3 separate regions of the Homo sapiens genome follow, and all the other regions are linked to region 1. The links are contacts of gene promoters, found by promoter capture Hi-C in human tissues and cell types (Jung and others, 2019). All regions are on one chromosome and are shown on one strand. The core of a region is centred on a gene start or on the middle of the fragment in contact, and the rest is flanking DNA. Distances in the headings are between cores, read along the strand shown. Region 1 holds the start of DNAJA2 (DnaJ heat shock protein family (Hsp40) member A2). Region 2 has its middle 76 kb from the start of N4BP1. Region 3 has its middle 87 kb from the start of ABCC12.

Region 1 (3,139 bases), core at 356-2,855:
GATCAGGAGTTCGAGACCAGCCTGGTCAACATGGTGAAGCTCCACCTCTACTAAAAATACAAAAATTAGCCGGGCATGGTGGTGGGCGCCTGTAATCCCAGCTACTCGAGAGGCTGAGGTGGGAGAATCACTTGAAGCCGGGAGGTGGAGGTTGCAGCGAGCTGAGATGGCGCCACTGCACTCCAGCCTGAGCGACATAACGAGACGCTGTTTCAAGTAAAAAAAAAAAAAAAAAAAAAAAAACAAAAGAGTTCGAGATCCTACCACAAAAGGTACAAACGAAGGGTGGTGGGAACTCGAATGAGATAGCAGTGTTCACCAGTGCCCAGTAAAGGAAGACTTCACAGAGGGAGCAGGATTTCAGATGGGATTTGAGGAAAAGGGTTTAAGGACTATTAATGACTTATCACTGATTACTCTTAGGGTTTTCAAGCTAAATTTCAGAGTCCTTGTCATGGAATTCAGGCCCTCCACAACTAGGTCAAAGGGAACGCCAAGGAAGAAACATTATCCTGAGTGAGATGCTTATGCTGAAGTCTTTGCTATCAGTTCAGGTTCCAAGGGATCAGAAAACCTTACTTTTCTGTCTCCATAAACCGTAAATGGGTTGAAGGCAGGCACTTTTGTAACACTCCTCTCCCCGGACCAGGCCTCTGTACATCATAGCACTTGGTAGATGCACAGCATACTTTCTGAGCGAAACTAAAACGAATGTAAATCAAGTCACCTGGTGGCCAGACTTGCCTTACACCATCTAAACCTCTGGTGTTAGCTAATTTTAAAGCTATCAAGTAAGAGGCTTAAACACGTGGTCCAGATGCAACATGTGGACCTTGGTTTGGACCCGGATGCCACAAACCAATTGTAAAAGGACATGAGATCATCTGAAAAACCTAAATATGGACTGGGAATTAGATTAAGGAATTGTTAATTTCATTAGATGAGATTACATCGTTATGCCTTTAAAAGTTGTCTCTTAGATATTAAATATATACACTTAGGGTATTTATGAATGAAACGGTTTCCCTTAAAACACTAGAAATGTATGGTGGAGCCAATGAAACAGGTAAAAGGTAGCTAACTGCACTATGGGGAGTAATATACTGCTTCTGCTAAATGTTTCAGAATTCTCATAATATAAAACACAACATACACACACACGCGCCCCCCAGTTTTTTTCATCGTAAGCCCCGAGGGAGCCAGACCCAGAGGGTCCACCGACGTCCCGGATTCTAATAACGACATCTGCGCGCCAGGCGGGCCTCCTGCGGGAGCCGGGGCCCATTTTCTTTCGAAGCTAACGAAGCTGCTGCGCAGGCCTGTTAATTCCCTCAGCAGCCAGTGCGAGGTTAAACACGCGACCTCGCAACCATGGCTTTTGAGAGGAAGCTGAATTCCTGGGGTGCGCCGTGCACAGTTCTTCATTTCCTACGTTGGCCCTGCCCAGCCGCCTGGACCTGGAGGAAAACAGAGAACCTGGCCCACTCTTCAATACTTCGACCCCAGTGGCCGCGCCTCGGGCGCTCGGGGGCGGGCTCTGCACAGCGACGTCACGGCGCACCGTGCGCTGGGTCAAAGTTCAGCCCCGCCCCCGCTTCCCCCTCGCTGTCTCCCTCGGCCTGTGCCGCCGCCGACGCCGCTTGTGGGCCCGACTCCGCTCTGTCTGCTTCGCCACCTTCTCCCCGAGCACTGCCCGGCCGGCCGCCATGGCTAACGTGGCTGACACGAAGCTGTACGACATCCTGGGCGTCCCGCCCGGCGCCAGCGAGAACGAGCTGAAGAAGGTATCTGGGAGCGGGCCGGGCGGGTGTGAGGGGCGCGGGGCCTGCGCGGCCAGGGATGTCTTCTTCAGCCAGGCCGCGCTACTGGGCTGCCCGCGAGCCGGCGCCGGCCGTGACTGGCCCGGGCTGGGAGTCGGCGGCGGCGGCGGGACCGGCCTCGCCGCGAGCCGCGCACTCCGGCCTCGGCTGACCTTGGGGCCGCCGGCCCCGCCCGCCCGCAGATGCAGCAAATAAAACTCACTCCTGCGCAAACACGATGGGAGCCCTTCCTTCCTCCCTCCTTGAACGAGCGCCGGGGGCTGGTATCCCCCGGGAGGCAGCAGCTCGCCCGGTCCTTCGCGTCGAGGTCACCACCCCGGAAAAACAGGTTGGACCGAGGTGCTCAGCGCATCCCGGCCCCGAGAGAGAAGCTGTCCGCCCCGCGGCCGTCGGCCCCGGGTCTGGTGCTCCGCGGGGAGGAACGGCGGGGAGGTCGAGGCCGCCCCCACAGAGCGCCTCGGGCGGATGGGGTTGTTTCCTGGGTTCCGCGGCCGCCGGCTGCGGGAGCTCCTCCCTCTCTGCGTCCCTCGCCCATTGACCCGGAGGTAGCTGGGTCTGTGTTTGGATGCATTGTTCTTTGGGCAGGTAATGCTAATGTCCTGTACCTGCTTAGGAATAAGCCGTGGTCCCAGCCAAACGCCTGAGTGTACAGTAAACATAAATAGAAGGCCTTATTATTGCTATTTGCAATGCTGCGATATCTTTCATCTCAGGATTTCAAAGCACACGAGGCATTTAAGCCCCACAGCATCCTCACCAGGCTAAGAGCATCCAGATTTGTAAGCCGAGAAAAATGAGAATGCTCCTTAGGCAGTGAGAAGAGTACAGTGGACTTCCTGTTACCTTACCGGAAATGCTAGTCTGTATTATATAATTCACGAGCCTCCGTGAATGAAGATTTAAGTGCTTTAGGACCCAAACACCTCGTTGAGAGTGTGTGCAACTTCTCTACCACCGAAGTTGCCACCACGACCCCAGTTAACCACCACGTGCAAATAAAACACCAAAAGACGCTAACTAGGACCACCTTTACTTTTTCATGATGTTACAGTTAGAAGGAAGGCGTGAGCCATCGGGAGCAGGAATTGTGACTTTAGCTTGATTTATAGTAATGTTTTGCAGTCCGCAAAGCTTAACAGTCATTTATCTCGAATTTATTAGGGTCGTCTTGGTCTGGTTACTTGGCCATCAAAGACACTTGACAATAGGGAAAATATGGATAATGTTTGAACGTTTTGTTTTTCCCTGTGGCATTGCTTCATTGTTTTATCTGGTTTTCACGTCACTGTAACCTGTTTTCAAGTATAGCTGCTGTCTAC
Region 2 (3,139 bases), core at 410-2,909, 1.6 Mb before region 1:
GGTCCCTCAGGGCCTCATCTGACCTTTGGTGGTTTTCAAATCCCAGGCCCTACAGAGGCAGGACACAGAGTGGGGCACGGAGCAGGGGAGGCCAGGACCCCTCCGGCTCCCTCCTGGTTCCTGAGTACCAGTGGGGCTGGCATTGGCATCAGGTGTTTCTCCCGACCTGGCCCCACTGTGTGTCCTCACCTCCTGACAGAAGCTGGCTTAATTACATGTGGGGACAATTTCTGCACAAGAGGGAGGAGAGCAGCTGGTACCCATTGAGCTTGCAAGCTTCTTTCCACAAAGCAGCGCCTTCATCCTCCCCACTGTGCACTCCCTGCAAACCCTGGTCACCATCCCACAGGCACCAGGGACCTGAGAGCCCAGCAGGGCCAGCCACACCGCTGAGAAGGGAAGGAGGAGGCCACCCAGTGGAGAGCCCTCGTTTCACAGTTGCAGTGTGGACAGAGGCCCAGCTAGCTTGGGTTGCCCATGGCCATCAGCTGTTCGGTAAGGCAGGACTGAGTCCAGGTCTTATTCCCACATTTGTTCTTTCCACTGCCTCCCCTGAAGATGAGTTTCTTTTCCCTGTGAGCCTTTTCTAGTTGTCTGACACTCCCAGCTTTAATAAACCCCCACCTCCCCAGCCCAGGAACTCTGGCTTTGAGGACCACCCAGAGCATCTCACACCCGTAGAGGTGGGGACGGTGGAGCGGGACTGCCAGTCACCTGGTCCCTCCCTCCGAGAACTCTGGCTCTAAGAAGGCACGAGGCATAGCTGGAAGAGGCCCTCGTCCACCATTTGGCCTCTGCGGAGGTGGCGTCCATCCCAGACCTTCGAGCACTCCAGCTTATCAGAATTACTATCCCCAGCCCAAACCACCCCTTTGGGGCTTGGAATCCCGGTATCACAGGGACCACAAGGAAGATGGCCATTCATTCATGCCTTGATGTCTACCATCCTCTGTTTATAGCTTCTGCATTCTAAATGTCTGCTGGGATGGGCCACTGTGGAGGCTGACAGCCTCACAGGGCAGGGAAGTCAGAGCCTGGAAGTATAGATGGGGTGGAAGGGAGCTAACTGGGCTGGGGAGGGGTGCTGCGGATGGGAGAGCGCTCGCACAGGGAAACAGAAAATGGAAAAGAAGATTCCGTGGGGGAGCTTTAGAGGAACTTGTAAGTATCTTGGAGCTGGAGAAGTCAGGGAAGAGGGTCTGGCTATATCCTAAGAGATGTATTCTGCCTCCTCTCCCCAGCGTGGAAGGCCAGCTGGGTGCACACTCTCCTCTGGAAAACCCTACCCAAGCCTGCGTTTCTGCACCTTGGAGACAACTCTGGCTCCAGCCTTCACTGACTCTTGTAACAAGAGGGCAACCAGTTAACCTAGCTCTATTCCTGGGGCGTATTAAGGGGATGGCGGGGTCGAGATGGGGGCCTTCGATGTATGGAGGACTCACTGTTCAGCTGCTTCCAATGTCTGTTCTGGAGGGCTCAGCCTGTCAGTAGCACGAGATGGCCCAAAGGTCCTGGTACCAGATGATGGGGCTCAGTCTTCCCAAGACCACTGAGATGAGCCAGCTCCTCTGCAGAACCCACAGTCTGTCTGCACCTCTGGCCTCCATGTGCACCCTCCTTGAAGGGCCAGGACCCAGGGGAAAGTTAGCCCTGCTGCCCAAGACTGCACAGTTCACAGCCTTCTCTGGCAGCAGGAAAATGCATCTGGTTCCTCTTTGGGGAAAAAAAATCAAGTTGGTTTTTCTTTTTGTTTTTTGTTTTGTTTTGTTTTTTTTAATGGAGCACAGTCATTCCTAATCATGACTTAACGTATGTAACTTCTACTCAAGAGGATCCCTTAACTGCCTGGAGTCTCAGTGACCCCTGCCTGTACACTTGGTCACCCTGGTTTGCAAGCGAATACCATTGTCCATTTACATCCAGCAAGCCCTACATAACCAGGGTTGGGGTAGTTCTTTTTCCTTTAGTCAACTTTTTTATTTTTATTTTTATTTATTTATTTATTTTTTGAGGCGAAGTTCTGCTGTGTCATCCAGGCTGGAGTGCAGTGGCACAATCTCAGCTCACTGCAACCTCTGCCTCCCGGGTTCAAGCAATTCTCCTGCGTCAGCCTCTCAAGTAGCTGGGATTACAGGTGCCTGCCACCACGCCCGGCTAATTTTTGTACTTTTTAGTAGAGACAGGGTTTCACCATGTTGGCCAGTCTGGTCTTGAACTCCTGACCTCAGGTGACCCGCCCACCTGTGAGCCATCGCACCAAGCCACAACCTCAATCAACTTTGTATGAATTTTTAAAAGGCTTCACTCTGGAATACTGTGCAGCCACAGAAAAGAATGAGATCATGTATTTTGTAGAAACATAGATGTAGCTGGAGGCCATTATCCTTAGCAAACTAACATGGGAATAGAATACCAAATACCTCATGTTCTCATTTATAGGTGGGAGTTATTAATAAATGAGAAAACTCATGGACACAAAGAGGGGAACAACAGACACTGGAGTCTATTGGAGGGTGGAGGATGGGAGGAAGGAGAAGATTAGGAAAAATAATGCACGACAAACCCCCATGACACAAGTTCCCTTATATAACAAACCTGTACAGGTACCCCTGAACTTAAAAGTTAAATTTGGAAAAAAAAAAAAAAAAAAGGTTGGCCAGGCATGGTGGCTTATGCCTGTAATCCCAGCACTTTGGGAGGCCAAGGCAGGCGGATCACCTGAGGTCAGGAGTTCAAGACCAGACTGACCAATATGGTGAAACCCCATCTCTACTAAAAATACAAAAAAAATTAGCTGGGCATGGTGGCATGTGCCTGTAATCCCAGTTACTCAGGAGGCTGAGGCAGGAGAATTACCTGAACCTGGGAGGCGGAGGTTGAAGTGAGCCGAGATCGTGCCATTGCACTCCAGCCTGAGCAACAGAGCGAGACTCCATCTCAAAGGAAAATAAACGGCTTCACTCATCTTCCTCCTGTACAGGACAGAACAGGACCCTTTTCATTGTATTTTGTTATTTTTAGTTATTTATGTATCTTTAGAGATGGCATCGAGCTACCTACACTGGTCTCTAACTCTGGCCTCAAGCGATCCTCCTGCTTCAACCTCCTAAAGCACTGGGATTACAGGCATGAGCAACTG
Region 3 (3,139 bases), core at 311-2,810, 1.1 Mb before region 1:
ACTTGGTTAAATCATTAGTGAATTGGCTGTTGACGAGAAAATAACATCTCTTTTCCTCATGATTTCTAATTTATCCAAGAGCCTCTCTAGCTTTCTGGAATTTCTGTTAACACATTTAAGCATCTCAATGGTAAATTCCAAGTGTCACAGTTCTTATTAACATCTCCTCCAGGCTGAGACCTACAGCTGATCTTGTGTCTGGAAATCAACAAATACTCAGTGAACCCTTGTTATGGAATAGAGGCAGTGCTAGGAGCAGGGAAGGATGCAACAATAAGACATAGCTCAGTCTACCAGGGAAACAGACATACACTGCACTGTCTCATGGCCCTGCAAGGTGGGAGTGAGATGCAGAACAAGCCCAGTTAACAGGCATTGGGGTGGTTCAGGAACTGGAGCCAGGCTGGGCTGGTGCTCACCCTGGAGGCTTAGGATAGGGGAGAGACAGAAGGGAGGAAAAGATTTTTCTTAAGGAGAGCAAGAATCAATACTATGAAAGTCAATTTCCTTATTCAAATTCAAAGAGAAATTTTGTAACCAAAAATGGGAGAACTACTGAAAAGTCAGAAGTAAACAGAAGACTGGAGTAGACAGTGAGGAGCAAAGATAAAAGGAGAGAGAAGATTCAAGACAGTCCCCCCATTTTTATTGGTCTTTAGCTGTGCCTATTGTGAGTGGGTAGATTTGTTTAAAGGCTCAGGGTCTGGCCGGGCGCGGTGGCTCACGCCTGTAATCCCAGCACTTTGGGAGGCCGAGGCAGGTGGATCACGAGGTCAGGAGATCGAGACCATCCTGGCTAACACGGTGAAACCCCGTCTCTACTAAAAATACAAAAAATTAGCCGGGCGAGGTGGCGGGCGCCTGTAGTCCCAGCTACTCGGGAGGCTGAGGCAGGAGAATGGCGTGAACCCCAGGGGGCGGAGCCTGCAGTGAGCCGAGATTGCGCCACTGCACTCCAGCCTGGGCGACAGCGAGACTCCGTCTCAAAAAAAAAAAAAAAAAAGGCTCAGGGTCTGGACGTACATCTCAGTAGTACTTTAAGCCATGACTCACAATACCCAATCCCACGGTGTATTTGAGGTCAAGAAAGTCCAGTCCAGCAATCAAGAGTAATTTCAAAGCAAGCACTTCTGTCCTGGACTAATATTTTTCAAACACCAAGAAGGACACATATAGACCTCAGCCATTCTATTTTTTAAAGACAGGGTCTTGCTCAGTTGTCCGGGCTGGAGTGCAGTGTCGTGATCATAGCTCACTGCAGCCTCAAATTCCTTGGTTCAAGCAATCCTCCCACCTCAGCCTCCCCAGTAGCTGGAACTACATGCACACCACCACACCTGGCTAATATTTTTTATATTTTGTACGGGTGAGGTCTCACTATCTTGCTCAGGCTGGTCTCAAACTTTTGGCCTCAAGCAATCCTCCTGCCTTGGCCTCCCAAAACACTTGGATTACAGACATGAGTCACCATGCCCTGCCAATGTCAGCCATTCTGAACACACTCCCATTTTCTCTTTCATCTATTTCGTTCTCATACCACTGTGGCTCTGAACTTATTTTTTCCCCCAACTACCTTGAAAAACTTCATTTTCCAAGCCATACTCCCCAGGCCTTTTGCACTTTCCTCCCTCCTCCTTTCTCCAGATTCTGAGTATAAGCAGCTGGTCTGCCAAGCAGTGCCCTTCTCAGGGGGTAGAGGGCAGTCCCAGTCAGGTTGTTTATTCATGGGTAGATCAGGAAGGTCTTGGAACATTTATCTCTTAAACACTTTATCCCATCATGTATAGGACAGAATACCAAATGCCTAACATGCAGCCAATGCCCAGAGGAAACCCACACACCTGTGTGTGCAGGTGCAGACAGCATTCCCTGAGTCCTCTAAGAACCCTCACAGAGATGTCCTGAGCCAGTGCTGGGGGGTGTTCCAGAAAGAACATTCCATGTCCTTCTAGAGGCAAGAAAAAGTCTCCTGGTCCATGCAGAAATTTAGAAGACATCTCCCTGTGTCTCTGTGATGTTCCGGACTCCTAATGCAGGGTTGACCCGGTGTTCCATGGTTGGTTTCCCTCCTTGCTGCTTCAACATCCTTAATCAACTTTATTAAATGCCGGTGCTTTGATGATAGGGCACACCTTAGATTTTCCAGCTACCAAATGATCCTATTTTATATCACTGCAGGCACTGAGTCACTTGAATACTTCTCAGTCCTGGAATCAATCCTGTTCGAGCCAAGTTGTTGAGAAAAAGTCCCCAGCCATTTTCCATTCATCTCGAATGTTGAATTTCCTAACATAATTGCCCAATCCTGGGGTGTCTCTGTCTCTCAGTCTTGCAGCTTGAGGAAATTGGTACCATTTCCTTACAGGTAGAAGCAGAGCAGGTGGGTTAATTCTCGCACAGGCAGCTACAGTATGATTTTTTTGTGAAGCATGAATCCACTCCGAATTAGTCTAATCCACACACTGCACTTGAAGTGTGAGAACAAGACCCCAAATCCGTAGCAGCAGATGAACGTATTCAATGCCCACATCAGCCACTTCCTCTCAGACTGTCTCTGAGAGGACTCCGCCCCTGGGGAGTCTCAACTCCAGGTGTTTCTGGGTGGCTGGATATTCCCACTCAATGTCTTTCTTGCTTCACACCCTGATCATCCATGCTATCATGCTGTCCTTGACTTCTCCCCTCAGGAACTCCATGACAGGTCTGCATCCTGCCCAGGGCCAGAACGGAGCTTCCCTAAGCGTGTCCTCCAGAACCCTAGTCCCTCCAGGTGAACTGTGAGAAAAGAGTTTCTCAGTCAAATAAGTTTTGGAAAGGGCTTGGACTATAGCCCTTGCTTGGAAATTTACAAGTTGACTGTGTCTTAGTTTGGGTTCCCCATGAGCATTTACTGAGACAAAGATTCCTGTTTCCTGGAAGGCGTGGGAATGAGATCAGGAAGGAAAGCAGGGGATAAAGGATGTTTTGTGGAGCCAGTTCCCATGGTGAATAGAAGCTTCATGCTGCAGGGGAACTTTGGCAGCCCTCAGAACAAGGGCCTCAGTGTCATCCCACCCAAAGGGTGGTGTGGGAGAGCCGGGGTATTTACACAGTGTTATCAGTCTGTTTTCATGATGCTGATAAAGACATACCTGAGACT

The links. Contacts are between HindIII fragments. The study calls those that stand out against the background at their distance.
Region 2: a contact is called between a fragment that was not itself captured here and the fragment with the promoter of DNAJA2 in region 1, in 1 of the 25 tissues and cell types used here (dorsolateral prefrontal cortex).
Region 3: a contact is called between a fragment that was not itself captured here and the fragment with the promoter of DNAJA2 in region 1, in 1 of the 25 tissues and cell types used here (lymphoblastoid cells).

What each region holds. Positions count from the first base shown.
Region 1 is chr16:46,972,140-46,975,278 of GRCh38, reverse strand. It overlaps DNAJA2 (DnaJ heat shock protein family (Hsp40) member A2), which reads left to right and starts at 1,605. Exons shown (of 9, transcript NM_005880.4): 1 at 1,605-1,784. The coding sequence starts at 1,707. DNAJA2-DT (DNAJA2 divergent transcript) reads right to left here and starts at 1,507. Exons shown (of 2, transcript NR_186372.1): 1 at 1,154-1,507. RefSeq lists enhancers at 1,194-1,283, 1,344-1,413 and silencers at 1,844-1,893, 1,924-2,003, 2,154-2,203, 2,234-2,303, 2,654-2,733. The HindIII fragment of the contact is 16,518 bases long and covers 1-3,139 here.
Region 2 is chr16:48,532,390-48,535,528 of GRCh38, reverse strand. No RefSeq gene overlaps it. Among named protein-coding and RNA genes, the nearest start is that of N4BP1, 76 kb to the left of the region's middle. The HindIII fragment of the contact is 4,833 bases long and covers 1-3,139 here.
Region 3 is chr16:48,067,426-48,070,564 of GRCh38, reverse strand. No RefSeq gene overlaps it. Among named protein-coding and RNA genes, the nearest start is that of ABCC12, 87 kb to the left of the region's middle. The HindIII fragment of the contact is 7,875 bases long and covers 1-3,139 here.